3 separate regions of the Homo sapiens genome follow, and regions 1 and 3 are each linked to region 2. The links are contacts of gene promoters, found by promoter capture Hi-C in blood cells and fetal thymus (Javierre and others, 2016). All regions are on one chromosome and are shown on one strand. Each heading gives the region's core, a stretch centred on a gene start or on the middle of the fragment in contact. The rest is flanking DNA. Distances are from core to core; before and after follow the strand shown.

Region 1 (2,700 bases), core at 22-2,521, 110 kb after region 2:
TAGGGAGGTCACCATAGGGTTCCAGCAAAGACAGGAAGTAGATTGAGGTTTAGGGAGACCACTTTTACTGATTCACTTTCATGTAGTGAATGTACTTAGTGATTCATATGAATAGTTATGATGGGGCCAGATTATGTAGGCATTGGAAGTCAGGGAGAAAAGTAGACTTGGTAAAATTGAGAGCTATTTTAGATTCCTGAGCAGGATAGTAATGTAAAAAATGGTACTTAAAAAAGATTACTCATGACAGCAGTATGAAAGATGCTTTTTGACTAGCATTAGGCTAAAGACCAGCTAGGTGGCTTTTTGGGCAGTCTATTGTGAGAGCATAGACTGATGGAGGTAGTGGCAGTGTACAAGGCTTGTAAACCAGTCTTGATATAAAGGAGAGGGAAGAGTCAAAGATGACACCATGCCTGAGACTAATAGTGTCAGTGTTGCAAATGTAGCCTGTTCTGATGGTGTATGAAGATGCCATGACAGTGTTATGAGTGTGTTGAATGGAGATAAAAGTAGCACGTTCAAGTGGACCTATATTCATGTTAAAGTAGTTATAAACTATCAGCCTTTATCTCTTTAAACTTTTCAATTAAAAGAAGAAAGGTAATGTGCATATAGTTAGAAAAGTGTCTAATTGAATTCTTTGTAGCCCCCAAATAAAAAGAAAAAAGAGAAGGAGCGCTGTACTGCCCTTCAGGACAAGCTTCTTGAAGAAGAAAAGAAACAGATGGAACATGTACAGAGAGTTCTACAGAGATTGAAACTGGAAAAGGACAACTGGCTTTTAGCAAGTAAGTTGTTGGAATTGTTAGGTTCCTGATGCTGGTAAATTACAGAAAACAAAACATTATAACTTTAGAGGTGTTAAAGTGTATTATGTTTGTATTTCAACTCAGTGTTCCCTATCCCATTCTTTGGTTATTTGTTAATGCAGAATCAACTTCATGTTCACTGGAGGAACTGATATAGTTTGCTGGTGAAGTTAATTAACTTTTAACTACATATTGGCAGCTTGTCATTCAGCTTTTCTGTATAAAACATATTTCTGGAGAAATCATAGAAAAAAAGGTCCACATAGTAAAAATGATAATCATGACCAGGCATGACATTTGGTTACAAACTATAAATAGTTTGTGGTTTATAGTATTCTCTTCACTAAAGGTAATATGTTGTCATGTTTAGTGGCTTTGAGGCACTTGGGGAAGAAGTTTACCACTTAATATATTCTTCCTTTATTTTTAGAATCTACCAAAAATGAGACCATCACAAAATTTCTACAGCTGTGTATATTTCCTCGATGTATTTTTTCAGCAATTGATGCTGTTTACTGTGCTCGTTTTGTTGAATTGGTACATCAACAGAAAACTCCAAATTTTTCCACACTTCTTTGCTATGATCGAGTAAGTTTTTATTGCAACCTTTAAAAAGTTCTCACACAAAGATAGCTAACATTATAATTTATAGAGGTATTATTGTGTGTTTAGTTAAAAAGCATGAACTCAAGAACCAAGTGTCTGAACTTGAATCCTAGCTCTACTACTTTCTAGCTGTATGATCTTTGGCAAGTTATTTAACCTCTCTGTGCCTGTTTTCTTATCTGTAAAGCATAAGTACCTGCTTCATAAGATTGTTGTGAGGATTAAATGAATCACTACACATAAAAAGTACCTGATATGTAATAGGCACTCAAGGTTAAACTATTAACTAAGTATTTGAGTTTACGTGTTGTATCATAATAGGTAGAACTCTCTTCTCCATTCTTAACCTTCACTTCTCAAAAAAAAAAAAAAAGACAAAAAAGTTTACACCTTCACACACATATAAAAGCAGGGAAGCTTTTCAGTATGGTCATATGCACATTTTGCATTTAGCTTTTTTCTTATTACTACATTTTGTGGTTTAAAAACATAATGTGGCCGGGTGCGGTGGCTCATGCCTGTAATCCCAGTACTTCGGGAGGCCGAGGCGGGTGGATCACAAGGTCAGGAGATCGAGACCATCCTGGCTAACATGGTGAAACCCCGTCTCTACTAAAAAAAAAAATACAAAAAAATTAGCCGGGTGTGGTGGTGGGTGCCTGTAGTCCCAGCTACTCAGGAGGCTGAGGCAGGAGAATGGTGTGAACCTGAGACGCGGAGCTTGCAGTGAGCCTAGATCACACCACGGCCCTCCAGCCTGGGTGACAGAGTAAGACTCAGTCTCAAAACAAAACAAAACAAAACAAAAAACATAATGTATGTTCCAGTATGTCAGCTGCATATTTTTAATTTCTATCAGCATTTCCTCTGCTTACTCTCCCCGTAAACCCAGTAATATGTATGGCTAAGTGGTTAAGAAACTATTATGTAATAAAAAAAAAACAACTTATTATGTAATAATAATGATAAATTTTTTTTTCCTTGTCACTGTAAATCAGCTTTCTTTATAAAAGTTCTTGTTTTGGGTGGTTGTTTTATGAATGCATTATTTCCCCACAAAAGCCAAAATCTCCAAAGTTCTCTGCAGTGTCATTATATAAAGGGAATATACATTTTGACTAGGCTTACCTGTTTATTATGACTTGCTGTAAGAGAATCTTCTAATATTTTTAACTGATTTTGACCTTGATTTGTTTATATTTTTTAAACATTTTTCTCCTGTAGGTTTTCTCTGACATAATTTACACAGTTGCAAGCTGTACTGAAAATGAAGCCAGTCGAT
Region 2 (2,732 bases), core at 29-2,528:
GGCGGAGACGCTCTTCACCTCTCAGACGGGGCGGCTGCCGGGCGGAGGGTCTCCTCACTTCTCAGACGGGGCGGCCGGGCAGAGACGCTCTTCACCTCCCAGACGGGGTCGCGGCCGGGCAGAGGCGCTCCTCACATCCCAGACGGGGCGGCGGGGCAGAGGCACTCCCCACATCTCAGACGATGGGCGGCCAGGCAGAGACGCTCCTCACTTCATCCCAGACGATGGGCAGCCGGGCAGAGACGCTCCTCACTTCCTAGACAGGATGGCGGCCGGGCAGAGACGCTCCTCACTTTCCAGACTGGGCAGCCAGGCAGAGGGGCTCCTCACATCCCAGACGATGGGCGGCCAGGCAGAGAGGCTCCTCACTTCCCAGACGGGGTGGCGGCCGGGCAAAGGCTGCAATCTCGGCACTTTGGGAGGCCAAGGCAGGCGGCTGGGAGGTGGAGGTTGCAGCGAGCCGAGATCACGCCACTGCACCCCAGCCTGGGCACCATTGAGCACTGAGTGAACGAGACTCCGTCTGCAATCCCGGCACCTCGGGAGGCCGAGGCTGGCGGATCACTCGCGGTTAGGAGCTGGAGACCAGCCCGGCCAACACAGCGAAACCCCGTCTCCACCAAAAAAATACGAAAAACAGTCAGGCGTGGCGGCGCGCACCTGCAATCGCAGGCACTCGGCAGGCTGAGGCAGGAGAATCAGGCAGGGAGGTTGCAGTGAGCCGAGATGGCAGTACAGTCCAGCTTTGGCTCGGCATCAGAGGGAGACTGTGGAAAGAGAGGGAGAGGGAGACCGTGGGGAGAGGGAGACGGGAGAGGGAGACGGGAGAGGGAGAGGGAGAAGGAGAGGGACCCGATTATTTTCTTTTATCTCAGCAGTCAGCAGGGCGTAATGTAATTTATTTGCTTATATTTATGGCTTTCCCAAAGACTATTATTTCTCTATTCCCAGTGTCTAGCACATATTAGGTGCTTGAAAAATGCGTGTTTGTATTAGTGGTTAGGGGTAGATATTACGGAAGAAGATGAAGTCTACTTGTTGGCCTGTGGATGGCATTTCTCTGTTCTAATGGGAAGTAAGGCCGAAGACTTCGGAGGGCGCAACCCGTGTAGTAACCTCGCAAAGGGGCCCGCGAGTCTCCACGTCGTTGGCTGCCTTGCCTCGGGTTTCCGCTGGGTGGAGAGGAAAGTGGGGCGGGAAATCGAAAAACGAACTCTCAGCTCCCGGCATTCCTCGTGGGCGGTGCTCCCCTTTGACCCTTCGCTCGCGTGCTACACATCCGGGCTTCTGCTACTAGTGAGAGGAAGATGGCGGCCGCGGCTGTGGTGGTTCCCGCAGAGTGGATAAAGAACTGGGAGAAATCAGGGAGAGGCGAATTGTGAGTGTTCGGGCCGGAGGCAGGCGCACTGCCGGGCCGGGCCAGGGCGTCAGCTGCACTCTCACCTGTAGTGGGAGGTTGAGGGGGAAAGATGTACCCCCTCCCCCACCCGGGCGGCGGGCGTGGATGGTCGTCTAGGAGTTTCGAACTCGGGGAGAGGTGCTGTTTACCGCCGCGGACCTCCTTCCTTCCCTGGCCTCCCAGAAATCGCTACTGCCTGCGGTAGCTCGGCTTCCTTTAGCCTCTTAGTAGAACTCTTATTCCGCCCCTGCAGGTCTCCGCGCTCCCTCTTGGTCTCTTTTTGTGTCCCCCTCTTCGCTTGATCTCACTTGGCTCCTTTATCTTTATGGGGCTGAGCCGGGGCAATTCGGACTTTCCATCTCTCTCTGTGCCATTTCTTCACTCTGCACCCGTTGGACTCCGCAGTTTGGAGCTTGGCGCCTCCTCTGCCTGAAGTCCAAGGAGGGCGAACCGTCCCGGATTCCCCTCCCCTCCTCTTCGCCCGCTGCCGCGAAGCCCGGGGCGCCGCGAAGAACCCGGTTTGGCACCTCTCGCCCTCCCGGGGAGCGGTCTCTCGACTGTCCCGGCCTCGCGTAGCGCCGTGGGGAAGTGTGGCAGGGATTGCCGCTTTCCCTGAAGAACCACCGACATTTCTTTGCTCCGTCTTTTCACCTTAGAGCTATTTCGGGTTGGATTCAACTTTCGTCATTAAATGTTCCCTAAACCCCATTTTATCCTGGGACTGCAACTAATTCTGGCAGCTCTCCAAGCTTCTCCAGTACCTAGGATAACGCGTTTCCTTTAGTCGTGAAACTTTCCCCCGTAACACCGAAAACAGTAATTTGCCATACCCCTAGTCTTCTCGCCCCCACGTTAGAGCGCTCCCTCCTCCCCTTCCCCTGGAAGGAGTCGTTTAAGCAGCAAAGCAAACCTCAGATATAAGAACAAATATTAATAACATCTCATTTCCTTCTCTGGGTCGCTTTTAGATGCTAAAGCTCAACCCTGGATGAAATTAACCCTCGTTAGCCATTTTTGTCGTCCTTGCCCACCCCTCTCCATTTCTAGTAGCCAGTTTACCGTGGCTCATGCTAAAGATTCAAATCTTTGTAACTTCGTTACTTGGAACGAAACACGAGGAACGCGTTGCCGGATCCCGCGCTTGTAATAGTGCCAGCCTATGTGGCTTCCTCCCCCGCACCCCCCGCACTGCTGTATGAAGTCTTAACAGTGTGAGCTCTAGAATTCCCTAAATAAGCGGCTGTCTTAGCCACTTAAGTAGCTGAGTGACCTTGGGTAAGTTCCTTAACCACTTGGACTGTTTCCCCTTGAGTAAATTGGGAATAATAAGTAC
Region 3 (2,700 bases), core at 21-2,520, 67 kb after region 2:
CTTATCTCCTCAAACCAAGCATATATTTTAGTACCTTTTATCAAAAGATAAGAACTATTCACAGAGTGTATCAGTCTGATATATATTAATCAGTGACTTGTCTTCTAACGTCTAGACCAGGGGTTCTAGAATGTGTGCTGCAGTGTAGTCTGAAAACTACAAGTTAGACTTCTAGGTTGGGTTTGTTCCATTGAGAGTTGAAACTCCATTCTTCTGGTTTTGACTTTCCCTCCTTTCAGTGGGTGGGAGGGGCAAAGAATTCCTGAGGTTTTTTCTTAGTGTAATTTTTCTCCATCCTGGCTGAGTGGCTCTGAGTGAGGACATTGCCTCTCTGATTCCCTTACCTTTCCTGGCATATAGGCTGCTGTTCTGGAAATTAGTAGTTTAGCCTCTCTTATCATCCCCAGTTACTATGTCATCTAGTCCTTTAGCTTTCTGCCTACTTGCAGGATACTTAGGAGCAGTATTGATAGCAGCTGTGGCTACAGCCCCATAGATCAGAGCCTGCCTCAAAAGCCTCAGCCTTGTGACTTTTGTGTAGCTGCTGGTTGCTGCCGTCAGTGTCACTTCATGGGCCGTGGACCATGCAGGCTTCTTAGAGAGTGACCCCTGTGACTCCACAGTGGGGCACCTGCTGAGCAGGTGAGAACTCTGGGTATGGTGTCCTAAAGTGACCTTCTTTTATTACATGGCTCACTTTCCCTACGACCACATTCTACATACCCTAGGTTGTGGAATCCAGATTGAGAAATGTCAGTTGACTTGAATCAGTGTTGTTATATCCATATTTTTCTGTTTCATCTTCCAGTGCATCTTAGGTCCATCCCTTGTTGCCCATTCCCATATCCAAGTTCCCGATACCGGCCAAGTTTAAAAACAGATTCAGATGGTGTGTGTTAAATGTTCCTTGAAATCCACACTTCTCTGATTAAGCAGTTAATTTGGAACATTCTCCTCTGAGCTCTGATTTTTTTTTTCTAATGACTGTTGTTTTTATGTGTTTCTACCAGTTGAGAATTATCTGGTGTAATAAAGTTAGGCACAATTGAAATGTAGAAAGCAAATATGAGCAAGAAAAAATTTCACTGATTAAGATAACTTTGTTAAAATGGTAGATATTGTAGTGTGTGTGTATATAGTTATATTTATTATATACTTATTTATTTGTTTATTTATTTATTTTACTTTTTAAAATAGAGTTGGAGTTCCTAAAGGTGCTAAAGGCTCACCTGTTAATGCTTTGCAAAACAAGAGAGCACCAAAACAAGCTGAGAGCTTTGAAGATTTGAGGAGAGACGTGTTCAATATGTTCTGTTACCTTGGTCCTCACCTTTCTCACGATCCCATTTTATTTGCAAAAGTGGTGCGCATAGGCAAGTCATTTATGAAGGAGGTAAGTAAGATTTTTCTTACAAACCTAAATTTTGAAATGAAAATATTCTGAGTATACTTGTGTTATGAGTATCTTTAGAAATAAAAATATGAACCTCATTTAATAAAGGGTTATGTTGAGTGAGGTTTGTGGAAAATTCCAGTGTGTCCTAACCATATGCAGTCAAGTGTTGCTTAATGACAGGTGAGAAATGCATCATTAGGTGATTCGTCATTGTGCAAACATCAGAGAGTGTACTTATACAAGCCTAGATGGTATGACCTACTACATACCTAGACTATATGGTATGGCCCGTTACTCCTAGGCTACAAACCTGTACAGAATGTTCCCGTACTGAATACTGTGGGGAGTTGTAATACACTGTTAAATATTTGTGTATCTGAACATATCTAAACATTTAAAAGGTAATACCTTGCACTAAGATGTTAGGACAGCCATGATATCACTAGGCAATAGGAATTTTTTAGCTCTAATATAATGTTATATGACCCTGGTCATATATGTGGTCCATCAACCGAAACATTGTTAAATGGTGCATAACTGTATATATTAATATAAACCCAAATCTAGCGAGATTATTAGTCAAGTCCCTCACATGGGAAAATATACTTCAGACAAGTGGCTGCTTTTTTAATTCCCTTATGATTAGTGGTTACTTAGCATTCTTTTCCTTCTAGTCATTTTCTTGAGTGTAGTTTTCAATCATTGCTGCTATGTGTAAGAAGTCTTTTCAGCCTCAGACTGTTAAGGACCCATTCTTTTATTTATTTATTCTTTTACTAAGATTTTTATTGAAATAAAACATACATACGGAAAAATACAGCTCAGTGACTTTCCCTAAACTAAGCACCCATATGTCCACTACCCAACTCAAATAGTTTACAGTCCCACCAACAGTGTGAAAGTGTTCCTATTTCTCCACCTCCTCTCCAGCACCTGTTGTTTTCTGACTTTTTAATGATCGCCATTCTAACTGGTGTGAGATGGTATCTCATTGTGGTTTTGATTTGCGTTTCTCTGATGGCCAGTGTTGAGCATTTTTTCATGTGTCTGTTGGCTGCATAAATGTCTTCTTTTGAGAAGTGTCTGTTCATATCCTTCGCCCACTTGTTGATGGGGTTGTTTGTTTTTTCTTCTAAATTTGTTTGAGTTCTTTGTAGATTCTGGATATTAGCCCTTTGTCAGATGAGTAGATTGCAAAAATTTTCTACCATTCTGTAGGTTGCCAGTTCACTCTGATGGTAGTTTCTTTTGCTGTGCAGAAGCTCTTTAGTTAGTTAGATCCCATTTGTCAATTTTGGCTTTTG

Evidence for each region. Contacts are between HindIII fragments. The CHiCAGO score rates a contact against its expected background, and 5 or more counts as called.
Region 1: a contact is called between a fragment that was not itself captured here and the fragment with the promoter of THOC2 in region 2, in 1 of 17 cell types (M1 macrophages). The highest score is 5.5, in M1 macrophages.
Region 3: a fragment that was not itself captured here is called in contact with the fragment with the promoter of THOC2 in region 2 in 1 of 17 cell types (M2 macrophages); the score reaches 6.3 in M2 macrophages.

Annotation. Positions count from the first base shown.
Region 1 is chrX:123,624,612-123,627,311 of GRCh38, reverse strand. It overlaps THOC2 (THO complex subunit 2), which reads left to right. Exons shown (of 39, transcript NM_001081550.2): 24 at 650-791; 25 at 1,243-1,400; 26 at 2,643-2,700. Among named protein-coding and RNA genes, the nearest start is that of THOC2, 110 kb to the left of the region's middle. The HindIII fragment of the contact is 1,132 bases long and covers 706-1,837 here.
Region 2 is chrX:123,731,598-123,734,329 of GRCh38, reverse strand. It overlaps THOC2 (THO complex subunit 2), which reads left to right and starts at 1,278. Exons shown (of 39, transcript NM_001081550.2): 1 at 1,278-1,378. The coding sequence starts at 1,308. RefSeq lists an enhancer at 1,263-1,342. The HindIII fragment of the contact is 10,140 bases long and covers 1-2,150 here.
Region 3 is chrX:123,664,335-123,667,034 of GRCh38, reverse strand. It overlaps THOC2 (THO complex subunit 2), which reads left to right. Exons shown (of 39, transcript NM_001081550.2): 12 at 1,198-1,393. Among named protein-coding and RNA genes, the nearest start is that of THOC2, 67 kb to the left of the region's middle. The HindIII fragment of the contact is 4,946 bases long and covers 1-2,700 here.